Linked DNA regions of Homo sapiens: all the other regions are linked to region 3. The links are contacts of gene promoters, found by promoter capture Hi-C in blood cells and fetal thymus (Javierre and others, 2016). All regions are on one chromosome and are shown on one strand. Each heading gives the region's core, a stretch centred on a gene start or on the middle of the fragment in contact. The rest is flanking DNA. Distances are from core to core; before and after follow the strand shown. Region 1 overlaps CLCN5 (chloride voltage-gated channel 5). Region 2 holds the start of SYP-AS1 (SYP antisense RNA 1). Region 3 holds the start of NDUFB11 (NADH:ubiquinone oxidoreductase subunit B11).

The links. The method cuts DNA at HindIII sites, captures the fragments that hold promoters and counts their contacts. A CHiCAGO score of 5 or more calls a contact.
Region 1: a contact is called between a fragment that was not itself captured here and the fragment with the promoter of NDUFB11 in region 3, in 1 of 17 cell types (monocytes). The highest score is 5.3, in monocytes.
Region 2: the fragment with the promoter of SYP-AS1 here is called in contact with the fragment with the promoter of NDUFB11 in region 3 in 1 of 17 cell types (neutrophils); the score reaches 9.7 in neutrophils.

The regions. Positions count from the first base shown.
Region 1 is chrX:49,926,319-49,929,741 of GRCh38, forward strand. The region is part of intron 3 of CLCN5 (chloride voltage-gated channel 5); the gene reads left to right. Among named protein-coding and RNA genes, the nearest start is that of CLCN5, 5.4 kb to the left of the region's middle. The HindIII fragment of the contact is 2,600 bases long and covers 188-2,787 here.
Region 2 is chrX:49,197,032-49,200,850 of GRCh38, forward strand. It overlaps SYP-AS1 (SYP antisense RNA 1), which reads left to right and starts at 1,808. Exons shown (of 2, transcript NR_046649.1): 1 at 1,808-2,193. SYP (synaptophysin) reads right to left here and starts at 3,162. Exons shown (of 7, transcript NM_003179.3): 1 at 3,120-3,162; 2 at 1,937-2,002; 3 at 684-808. The coding sequence starts at 3,155. RefSeq lists silencers at 2,995-3,044, 3,115-3,354. The HindIII fragment of the contact is 12,908 bases long and covers 1-3,819 here.
Region 3 is chrX:47,143,291-47,146,875 of GRCh38, forward strand. NDUFB11 (NADH:ubiquinone oxidoreductase subunit B11) reads right to left here and starts at 1,412. Exons shown (of 3, transcript NM_001135998.3): 1 at 1,183-1,412. The coding sequence starts at 1,389. RBM10 (RNA binding motif protein 10) reads left to right here and starts at 1,931. Exons shown (of 24, transcript NM_005676.5): 1 at 1,931-2,195. RefSeq lists an enhancer at 1,955-2,224. The HindIII fragment of the contact is 2,886 bases long and covers 1-1,756 here.

The sequences.
Region 1 (3,423 bases), core at 238-2,737, 2.8 Mb after region 3:
GTTTGGATATTCTTGCTTAAATCCTGAGACATTATTTCATTCAACAAACGAAATACAGAGATGAATAAGTTGCAGGATGCTAGAAGATTCCTTGTCATCTAAAGACAGACATACAAACAAATAATTTTGCCATGTTGAATAAGTGTTAGAATAGAGAGGTACAAAAAGCAAGGGAAGCCCCGAGAAAAGCTTGATGAAGTCTGAGTTTTGAGCTGGTCTAAAAAAATGAGTAGGAGCAAATGAGAGAATTGCATTCTGGGCAGACAGAGCAGCACTGTTTGGGAAGTTCCAAGTTGCTCTGTTTGCCTCATGTGAGATGTGTAGGGGCGCGACCTCAGATGAAGCAGGGAAGGTAGTTGGAGGCCAGATAATAAAGAGCCTTGTATGTTCTAGGAAGGATTTTACACTTTATCCTGAAGACAAAGATTCTAAACAGGGAAGTAACATAATCAGATTTTGTTTTAGAAAGATTACTTTGGCAGCAGTGCTGAGCTGGAAATGATGAAAACTGGGAGTCAGTCAGGAGGTTTCTGGAATAGTTTAGGGGAGAGATGGTAAGGGTCTGAGCAGAAGCAGGGGCAGTAAGGTTAGAATGGGATTCTAGAATGTTCTGTGACTGGATGTGGCAAGAAATGGGCCTGGATTAACTACCAGCTTGGGTGCCTGGGGGCCACTGGTGCCATTCTCTGAGATGGGGAGCATGGGAGGCAGCTGATGGGCATGGGGGTGGTGCACTGGATTTGGATGACCTGTTTGGGTTGAGACACCTATGTACTGTCAGGTCAATGTTTCAAAGACAGTTTTGAAAGTACAGAACTGATATTGGCACAGATGGGGATCTAAAGTTTTGTTCCTAATGATGCATAAAGAGCTTGTATTTTTTTCTCTGTAGTTAATGGAAATGTCATTACTAGTTAATGATTTATTTTACAATAAAAACATTTTAATGTTTAACAACTCTTAATCAAAATGTCATATTTTCATAGTAAATAATGTATTTTGCAAGCCCAGGCCCTGAAATCAGATGTGCTTAAAATTACATTGAAGTGAAACCTCATTTTTCCAGCATTAGTGAAGAGGGGAGTATTCTATATAAGTAAGCTCTTTGGATAACTGCAGCTTATCCTTTGTTTTGGCTAACCTCTGAAGTAACCAGCAAAGTACGATGATAGTTTGGAAGCAGTGTGGTATGATAGTTAAATGTGTGGGTCTGAGTTCTACTCCATTGGTTCTGTCACTTGGTAGCTACGAGGCCTTGGGCAAGTAACTTAATCTCTCTGTGTGGAAGTTTTCTCCTTTACAAAATGGAGATAGTAATATAACTCATCCCATTGCTGAGTATATAGCCAAAAGAAAGGAAATCAGTATTGAAGAGAGAGCTGCACTCCCATGTATATTGCAGCACTACTCACAATAGCCAAGATAGGAAATCAACTTAAGTGTCCATCACTGGATGAATGGATAAAAAACATGTGTTACATATATTCAACAAAATATTATTCAGCCATAAAAAGAATGAAATCCTGTCATTTGCAGCAACATGGATGGAACTGGAAGTCATTATGTTAAGTAAAATAAGCCAGGCACAGAAAGATAAATACTGCATATTCTCACTCATATGTGGGAGTTAAAAAATGTGGATCTCATGAAGGTAGAAAGTCGAATGGTGGTTTCCAGAGGCTGGGAAGGGAAGGAGTTTGGGGAATGAAGAGAAGTGGGTTAATGGTTATAAACATACAGCTAGAGAGAAGGAAAAAGTTTTAGTATTCAATAGTACAGTAGGGAGACTACAGTTAACAATAATTATATATTTCAAAATGGCTTGAAGTAAAAAATTGGAATGTTTCTAACACAAAGAAAAGATAAATGTTAGAGGTGATGAATATCCCAGTTACCCTGATTTGATCATTACACATTGTATACGTGTATCAAAATATCACATATACCCCCCAAATATGTACAGCTATTATATATCAATTTTTGAAAAGGGAGAAAAGTAGAACACCTGATAGGCTTGGTGTGAAGAGAAATTAAGCTAATATATGCAGAGCACTTGGAACATAGTAAATGCCATATAAGTGTATGCCATTATTATAATAGTAAAACATTTAGAATATTGTGTAGCATATAATAAGTGCTCAGTAAAATTTAGCAATAGCCGTTATTACTACTATCACTATTATTTTCTTATAACCTGGGGTGGGACTGGGACCTTGTTCTGTGGAGGTAATTTTAGGTTGTCCTTGGAAGCCCTGTCCTGTGGTTGTCTGTTTGGGTCTTTAAGTAGAAGTTTAGACTTGAAAAGATTCTTAGAAAACATCTAGCAGCCGGGCGCGGTGGCTCACGCCTGTAATCCCAGCACTTTGTGAGGCCGAGGCGGGCGGATCACGAGGTCAGGAGATCGAGACCATCCTGGCTAACACGGTGAAACCCCGCCTCTACTAAATATACAAAAAGTTAGTCGGGCATGGTGGCGGGTGCCTGTAGTCCCAGCTACTCGGGAGGCTGAGGCAGGAGAATGGCGTGAACCCAGGAGGCGGAGCTTGCAGTGAGCCGAGATCGTGCCACTGCCCTCCAGCCTGGGCGACAGAGCCAGACTCCATCTCAAAAAACAACAACAAACATCTAGCTCAATTCCTAGAGGTTAAGTGATATGCCCAACGTCAAACAGGTAGTAGTTGATCCTAGAGCTAGTATTAAAATCCAGGTCACCTAATTCCCTATTCCAGTATTCTTTCCGTGGGCTCATGGAAGAGGCAATGTGTGAGTCTGTTCTCAGCTCAAGGAAGCTTCTGAGTCAGTCTGTAGAGCTTGTTGAGGAACCCTAAGGGCTACAGGAGCCCAAATCTCCTTAGGTTCTTGGCTCATTGCTGTCTGGTTCCTCCATGGAGAATTTGATCTGAATTCCCATACCTCTTAAATGGGGCCAACATTATTTTGACTTCACTTAATGGAGCCCTCTAATATATTTTCTGGCCACTTTAAACAGTGTACTGAGCATAATTTAATATTTTTGATAACTCAGGGTTATCATTAATAACCTCCAGCCAGTTTGAGGTTGGAGACTTGTGTTGTCAGGTGTTGTTTATTTATTCCATTAACATTTATTGAACACTACTTGTGCAGCAGGCACTCTGCTGGGCCCTAGAGACGCAATGGTCAGTGGAAACAAGTATGGTCTCTACTGTAATGGAACTTAAGAACCAGGATAAAGGTAGCACTTCAAATTAATGAAATGATTTATTTAACACATATGCTGAAGTAATTTGGAAAAAATGACAGCATAAATTTAGAAGGGTTAATATAATGTTTCTTAATAAAGGAGGGGACATCAGAATTACCTGTAGTGCTTTAAAAAATATTCCTACTCAGGTCCCCATTCCCCCAAATTGTGATTCAGTCTTAAGACCTGAGCATTACAAT
Region 2 (3,819 bases), core at 558-3,057, 2.1 Mb after region 3:
CTCTTGTTGCCCAGGCTGGAGTGCAATGGCGCGATTTCGGCTCCCAGGTTCAAGTGATTCTCCTGCCTCAGCCTCCTGAGTAGCCGGGATTACAGGCATGCATGACCACGCCTGGCTAATTTTGTATTTTTAGTAGAGACGGGGTTTCTCCATGTTGGTCAGGCTGGTCTCGAACTCCTGACCTCAGGTGATCCGCCCACCTCGGCCTCTCAAAGTGCTGGGATTACAGGCGTGAGCCACTGTGCCTGGCGGGAGTTGGGTCTGTTTTAGTTACTATCATGCTTCCAGCACTTTGAGTAGTACCAGATATAAAATAAGTTCTCAAAAATGTGTATAGAATGAATGAATGGGGATTAAATAATAATATTGGCTAACATTAATTGGGTACCTACTGGGTTAAGGTATGTATATACACCTGTCTTACTTTTGTATCTTGTTTATTGCCTGTCCCTTACCCCTTCGCTGGAACAGAGCCAGAGGGCCACAGCCTATGTCTGCCTTGCTCACCACATAGTCCTAGAGTCCAGAGCAGTGCCAGGTACAAGGCAGGTGCTCAGTGATCCCAGTGGATGTAGCCTCGAGGTGGGAGCTGGGCAGGAGCTACTTGCGGGGGGAGGTATTGGCCGGTTCCACCCTGCCCCTTCCTCTCCCAGGTCTGTTGGTATCCCAGGGTGGGAGCACACCTGAAGGGGTACTCGAACTCGACCTCGATGCTGAGGTCACTCTCGGTCTTGTTGGCACAATCCACGCTCAGCTGGAGCTCCCCACTGTAGCTGCCGCATGTGGCAAAGGCGAAGATGGCGAAGACCTTGGGCAGCAGGGATGGGGATGGCCACAGTGAACCTGTGTGCATGTGGGAGGGAGGTGCCCTCCTCTGGACAGATCGGGGGCCCAGCACAGGCAGCAGCAGATGGAGCAGTCCCCACCCCCACCCCCTAATCAGGGCTCATCGGGACCAAGGACAAGCTGATTACAAGGGTATGGCTGTCTCTTCCTGTTTCTCTCTCTGTGTCTCTCTCTGTCTCTGCCTTTCCATGCTGACCTCCCTCTTCTCTGTTTGTCTCTGTTGTTCTCTGTGTATCTCACTGTGTCTCTGTTTCTCTCGGTATCTCTGTTTCTCTATGTGTCTTTGTCTTTCTCAGATGTCTCTTTGTCTCTCTGTGTCTCTGATCCTCTCTGCCTCTGCCTATCTGATCTGTCGATGTCTCTTTTTGTCTCTTTTTTCTCTGTCTGTGTAAGTGTATGCCTGTATGTCTGTGTCTTTCTGTTTCTTGGTCTGTTTGTCTCTGTCTCTCTGTCCTGTCTCTCACTCGGTCTCCGGATGGTTCTCTCTCTGTCTCCCTCTTGCCTCTGTGTGTTGGTTTCTCTTTTTTCTGAGTGTCTCTTTCTCTCTGTGTCTCTCTCTCCCTCACCCTGTTTTCCTGCCTCTCTCCCTGCGTCTGTTTCTCTTTGCATCTGTTTTCTGTGTCTCCTTTTTCTTTGTTTCTGTTTGTCTCTTCTCTCTTATGTCTGTATCTCTTCTCATCTCCATATTTCTTTTTTTTTTCTCAGTATTTCCATCTCTGTCTTTATCATTCCCTGTCCCTCATTCTCTCTGTCACCTTCACTGTCTCTGGGTTTCTCTGACTTTGCATCTCTCACCCAGCATCTGCTACAGGCTCCACCTCCCCCACCCCTCCCTCACTTCAAGAGAGGAGGTAGGACGTCACAGTCTCCCACTTCACAACGGGGGTACCCTCAGCCCTATGTGACGTCACAGCTCATCTGTTTTCTGGCTTCAGACCCCTGAAACCTCACCCTGGAGCCCAATTCCCCCATCCCCTACAACCCCCGCACTCATCCCTGGCTACTCGCCCCTACTCCACCCCTGCTCTTCTGGACCCCATGACCTCCCTCTCTCCCTGCACTCTGCCCCAACAGCCCGGACCACACTCACCCATTGCAGCACCTTCACAAAGCCGAGGGGCTCCTTGACCACCCGGAACTGACCCCCAGCCACCAGCTGAGGAGAGAAACAGTGGGGAAGGGGTGGGGTTGTTGGAGGTACAGGGAGGTGAGCGGCAAGGCTGCCCATCAATGACCCCAGGGGATGGAGCATGTGACCTCGGGGAGAGGGTGAGAAGGAGAAAGTGACACCTTGGGGATGGTGTGAGCCCCAGGGTCCAAGGACTGGTGGGAAGGTCTGAAGAGATGGTGAGTCAGATGGCAGAGGAAGTCGGGGGTGAGGGAGATGGGGATGAGGTCAGGACTAGTTAAGGAGGGGGAGCAGGTTTGAAACGTAAAGGCGAGTCGGATGGGGAAGGGGTTCGGGTAGAGAATGGGGATGGAGTGGGGTGCATTCGGGTGGGGGGGTTGTGATGGTGAAGGTGAGTCATAACGGGGCAGGAGTCGGTTTGGCTCAGGTGGGGGAAGGGTCTGCAGGGGTAAAGGTGTGTTAGACGGCGGTGGCGGTAGATATTTGAGGTGATGGGGATGGGGAAGGGTTGGGACTGATTGGGGGTGAGTTTCTGAGGTGGCAAAGACGAGAGACATGGCGGAGAGGGTCTGGACTGATTAAGGTGGGGGAGGGCTGGGACACGGCTTCAGTCGCTATGTGTTGGGGGTGAGGAGGCTGGGGGTTTTGGAAGGAGTAAAACCGGATTGTCCCCTAGGTGTGCTCTGGGGGAAGGGGTGGTCGCCTATGGGGGTACAGTCTCTGTTTGGGAGGGGCGGGTGCCAGCCCTCTCCCCCATCCCCGCCCCCACACCTTCTGTCGCTCTATTTCCTAGCTTATCCGCAGCACCCCCCATCTTCCTTCCACTCTCCCCTCCCCTTGTCCCTTGCCCTCACTCCAGCCCCCAGGCCCCTATTCCTCCCCTCGCGGTCGCCAGTAATAAACGGGGCTCCGGGGGCCCCCGCTGCGGCAGTGAGGACGGCCCTCGCTGCGGCAAAGAGCGCACTCCTTTTCTCCACCTCCCCCTTCCTCCCCTTCACCTGCCGCAGACCCCCATCCCCAGCGCCGGGGACCGGGTCTCCGCTGCCAGACCCTGGCCACCACCTCCCAGAGTCGGCTGGCCTGAGCGACCCGGCCTAGGCAGCCGGGCGGCGGCGGGCTCTGTCCACGGTGCTGGAGCGCGTACCTGATTCACCACGTCCATGTCCGCCAGCAGCAGCATCAGCAATGCAGGGGGCGGGAGGCTCGGCTAGCAAGGGCGGCGCGGGGCGCGGCGGGGGCGGCGCGCGCTCGTTGGAACAGCCCAGGCGGCTGCAGCCCCGCCCCTCGCGCCCCCTCCTTGCCCGCCACGCGCCTGCGCACAGCGGGTTGTACCACAGTCTCACCGGCAGCCATTCCGGCCCGGAGGCTGGAGCCGTGAGAGCGTGCGGGAATATGCGTTGGGAAAACACAAGTCGAGGGCCGGGGAGAGGAGACCTCCCTGCTCGGTCCTACAGTGTGACAACTTTGCCAGGCTCTTTTCTGAGTTTGTTAAACATGTTCACTCATTTAATGCTTACAGAAGTCCTACGTTGTAGGGACTATTAGGCCGTTTTTACAGACGAGGAAAATAATTCCCCAGAGAGCTTAAGTGACTCTCACAAGGTCAGCCAGCTACTAGCTGGCAGTGCCCAGAGTCCCTGCAGTTTAAACACGGTTCAAGGCCTTCCAGGTTCCTTTTTCATAGTCTGCATTTTAAGCACACCCTGAAACTCCTGCCCCCATCTAGCCATCTCCCTTATTTCTTTCTTCCTCTTTGTCAAATTAATGCCTACTCGAACTCTACCACTTTACCTATTTATTCCTTAGCTCTCTCTTAATTGGAATAACCCTCCTTCCTGCGACTA
Region 3 (3,585 bases), core at 162-2,661:
TTCTAATATTTTACTGTTTATTTTCTGTCTTCCCCACTATCATGTAAGCTCTATGAGAGCATGGGCTTTGTCTGATTTCCACACTGCTGTATCCCCAGGGCCCTGAACTGAGCCTGGCATACAGCAGGCCCTCAATACATATTTACAGAATGAACAAGCATCCTATATATCCAAGCCCCTTAACCAGAGGTTAGTATTGATGAAGTACTTATTATGTGCCAGTCTTTTCACATAGAAACACCTCACAATATCTCAGTGAGGTGAAACATGGCAATAATAAACACATTCTAGTGCTGAGTACATACTTACGAAGTGCCAGCTGCTGTTCTGACCATTTTTACTCATTTAATTACATGAGGCAGGTGGGGTGTCCTATTTTTTAGAAGGTGTCCTATTACTGTTCCCATCTTACAGACAAAGAAACTGAGGCACCAAGGGTTTATGCTACCAAGATCACACGGGTGGGTAACCGTCAGTGCTGCCTGATTTCACAGCGTCTGCTATTAATACAGCACAGCAGACCTGGTAGCCCTAAATTCAAATACCAGTTCCACCTCCACCATGTATTCAGTTATGTGAGCTAGGGCAATCCACTTAACATCTCTGTGCCTCAGTTTCCTCATCTGTAGGATGAGTATAATAATAGAGCCCACCTCGAAATGGGGTTTGTTTCGAGTATAAGATGAGCTAATGCATGTCAAGTGTTTAGAACACAGACGGGGCCCGGAGCGGTGGCTCATGCCTGTAATCCCAGCACCTTGGGAGGCCGAGGCGAGAGGATCGCTTGAGCCAGGAGTTCGAGACCAGCCTGGGCAACATAGCGAGATCTCGTCCCTATAAAAAAAAAAAAAAGAATGCAGACGGCAACGAGCAAGTGCCATATCGGTGTTTAGTATTATCGTTGTACTATACTGCTTCTAACGTGTTTTGAGCGCTGTCCACTTGAGGTGTGATTTCTGTCTGCAAAATAAAACCAATCCTGCCTCTGGCCCTGGAACGAAGATACCGAGAGACAAAGGAGGAACACAAGGTAGGCAAAATTCCCAAGTCTTCTAGGCTTTCGCCGGCCGCGCAGTCCTCTACTGCCTAAGAACGTCCTCTACAGCGCCCCATCTGCCGATCCCGGACTGACCCCTTCGGGGTTCCGTCCCCACTACCCCCCCCCCCCCCCCCGCCTCTCACCTTCTCATACAAGTTTTCGTCCTCGGGTTCTGGGTCCTCTTGCCACGGTGTGGTCGGTTCTGGGGGCCGCTTTCCCGCCACAGCGGACGGGGCGACCACAGTCCTGGAGAAGCTAGATTCCCAGCGGACGCGGGCGGCCGGGAGCCCTCGCGTCGCCGCTGCCGCCAAAAGACGGCGAGCGCTCAAACCAAACAGCCCAGCCGCCATGACAGATGGTGCTGCAGGGTCTCAGGGGCGGGGAAAGAAATGCGACTGTGCGCAGCTGCAGTGGGTGCGAGCGCGACAATCATCGCCCCGCCTCCGCCACGCTATATAGGTCCCAGATCTGATTTGGTTTTCCAATGAGGCGGGGCGTTGAGCAACCCTCTTTGCCTCCAGTTGTCGTGGCTTCGTGGGGCCAACCATTTTCGGCCAGGCTGAGAAATTTCTTATTGATGGGTCTGCTCATTTCCTGCATAGGAAGAAATCGGTGACATTTGGGTGGATACAGTTCCCAGCCAATCGCCCCGAGTTCCCTCGCCCACTGGGGAAAGAGGCAGAGCTTCCGCTAGTCTTTCATCTTCAAAGGAAATCAAGCTTCTAAAAAGCGGGCCCTGCCGAATTGGCTAATAGCTACTCCTTTTCTCCACTAGGGGAGCGTTCGCAAGGGGTGTGGGGAGGTGGCCAGCGCTTGCCAATCAGAGGAGGCCAGGGCTGTCCCCTAGCGGGCGGTGACCAATCGCCGGGGCCGGCCAGAGCGCGCTTCCTTAGTAGGTGGATGGTGGTCGGAGCGCCGACTCCCTTCTCGTCGTCGCCATTTTGAGCTGGTGACTGTGGCCGGCTGGGAGTAGGCGGCAGTGAGTTTCCCTGGGAGGGCAGCGCGCTTGGCGCTTCTCCCCTCCCCCCGATCTGCCTCCAGTCTCGGACTTGGTTGTTGCGCGCTCCGGCTCCGGCTGAGCTGGGAGAGTTGGAGGAGGTGGCGGCGGGCAGAGGTGATGTCTGGGAGCCCTTCCTTGACAGCCCGGGCCGAGAAGGTGAGCGTCGACGCTGGTCGTGGGGGCGGAGGTAAGGGGCCCGGGGCGGGGACGTAGAGGAGGCGCGAGGGCGGACTTCGGGTCGGGGGAGATGCGCGGAACGGAGGGGTTGGTGCAATGTCTCAACCCGGGAGGGTTTTTTTTTTTTTGGTTTTTTTTTTTTTTTTTTTTTTTTTTGGTGTGAGCAAAGGCGCGTGCGCGACTGGGACATGGGATGGGTGCATGCGGGTTGGGGGAAGGGAGGGACGGATGGGAGTGGGCTACTGTGGATCACTGTGTCGGCTACATCGAAGTTTATCAGTGGGGAAGCGGTTGTCTGCGACTTTGAGTTTGTGCATAGGAGAGGGGATGCTGCTCTGTGTTACTCTGGTGTTTATCGGTCCATGGGGAAATATTCTGTGGTTCTGGTCTCTATTCCTGGGGGATCGGAGGGGGGATGTGACTCTGGTCTTTACCCTTTGAGGGGGGGCGGTCTGTGACTCTGATCCTTATCCATGGGGCGGGGCTTGGGGGACGACTGTCTTTTGATTGACCCTAACCCACTTATTGGGTGGGAAGGGGCATGCAGGGAATGTGTGTGTGACTCATTGCCCCTTCTTTTGGGGAGTTTGTATCTGTGACACTGACGCTCATCCATGGAAAGGGGACCCACTGTGTAATTGTGGTCCTTACTGTGTGTTCCTTCTGTGATGTGGGCCCGTAGTTATTTGGGGCTCGTGTCTGTGACTGGCCCTTGGCTGTGGTGGATGTTACTGTGTGACTCTGGCCCCTTTGCCAGAGTCTCTTGAAGGTTTTTGTGCTCTCAGACGCCAGTGCCTCTGTGTGATTCTAACTCTTGCCCACCTGGGAGCAGGTAACTCGGGTTCCCTGTGGCTTGAGGAGGAAGAGAAAATTGGAGTGTGTTTGTCTGTGTATGTGTGTGCACGAGCATAGAGCAAAGGTGTGGCAGCAACCTAGTGTTGAGCAGGTGCTATTATTGCCTGGCTTTACCTGCTTCTTATTCAGAGGGTGGGGCCTGAAGATCTGGGATTCATCCTGACCTCTGGCTGGGTCACAGGGTTCTCAGGACTCCCTGAGTTCTCACCACAGCCCTGAGGGTTGGATGAAGTGGCTGCTGCTCCATCCCAATAGAAGAGCACAGTGGTTCAGAACAGCCTCCAAAAGGGCCCCTTTTGCCTCTGGAAACCGGGCTTGAGCCCTGGGGAGGGAACCACCTTAGGACCGGGCTGCACATAAGAGACAGGGCTCAGGGCTGAGCCAGTTGCTGTGTGAGGGCCAAGGCTGTGTTGGCCAGGAGCCCAGGGAGGTGGCAGCTGTCTCGTCGCCAAGTTCGCCCCTTCACACACCCCCCCAAGAGCCTTTCATGGTCTTTTGCTGCCTTATAGGGGAC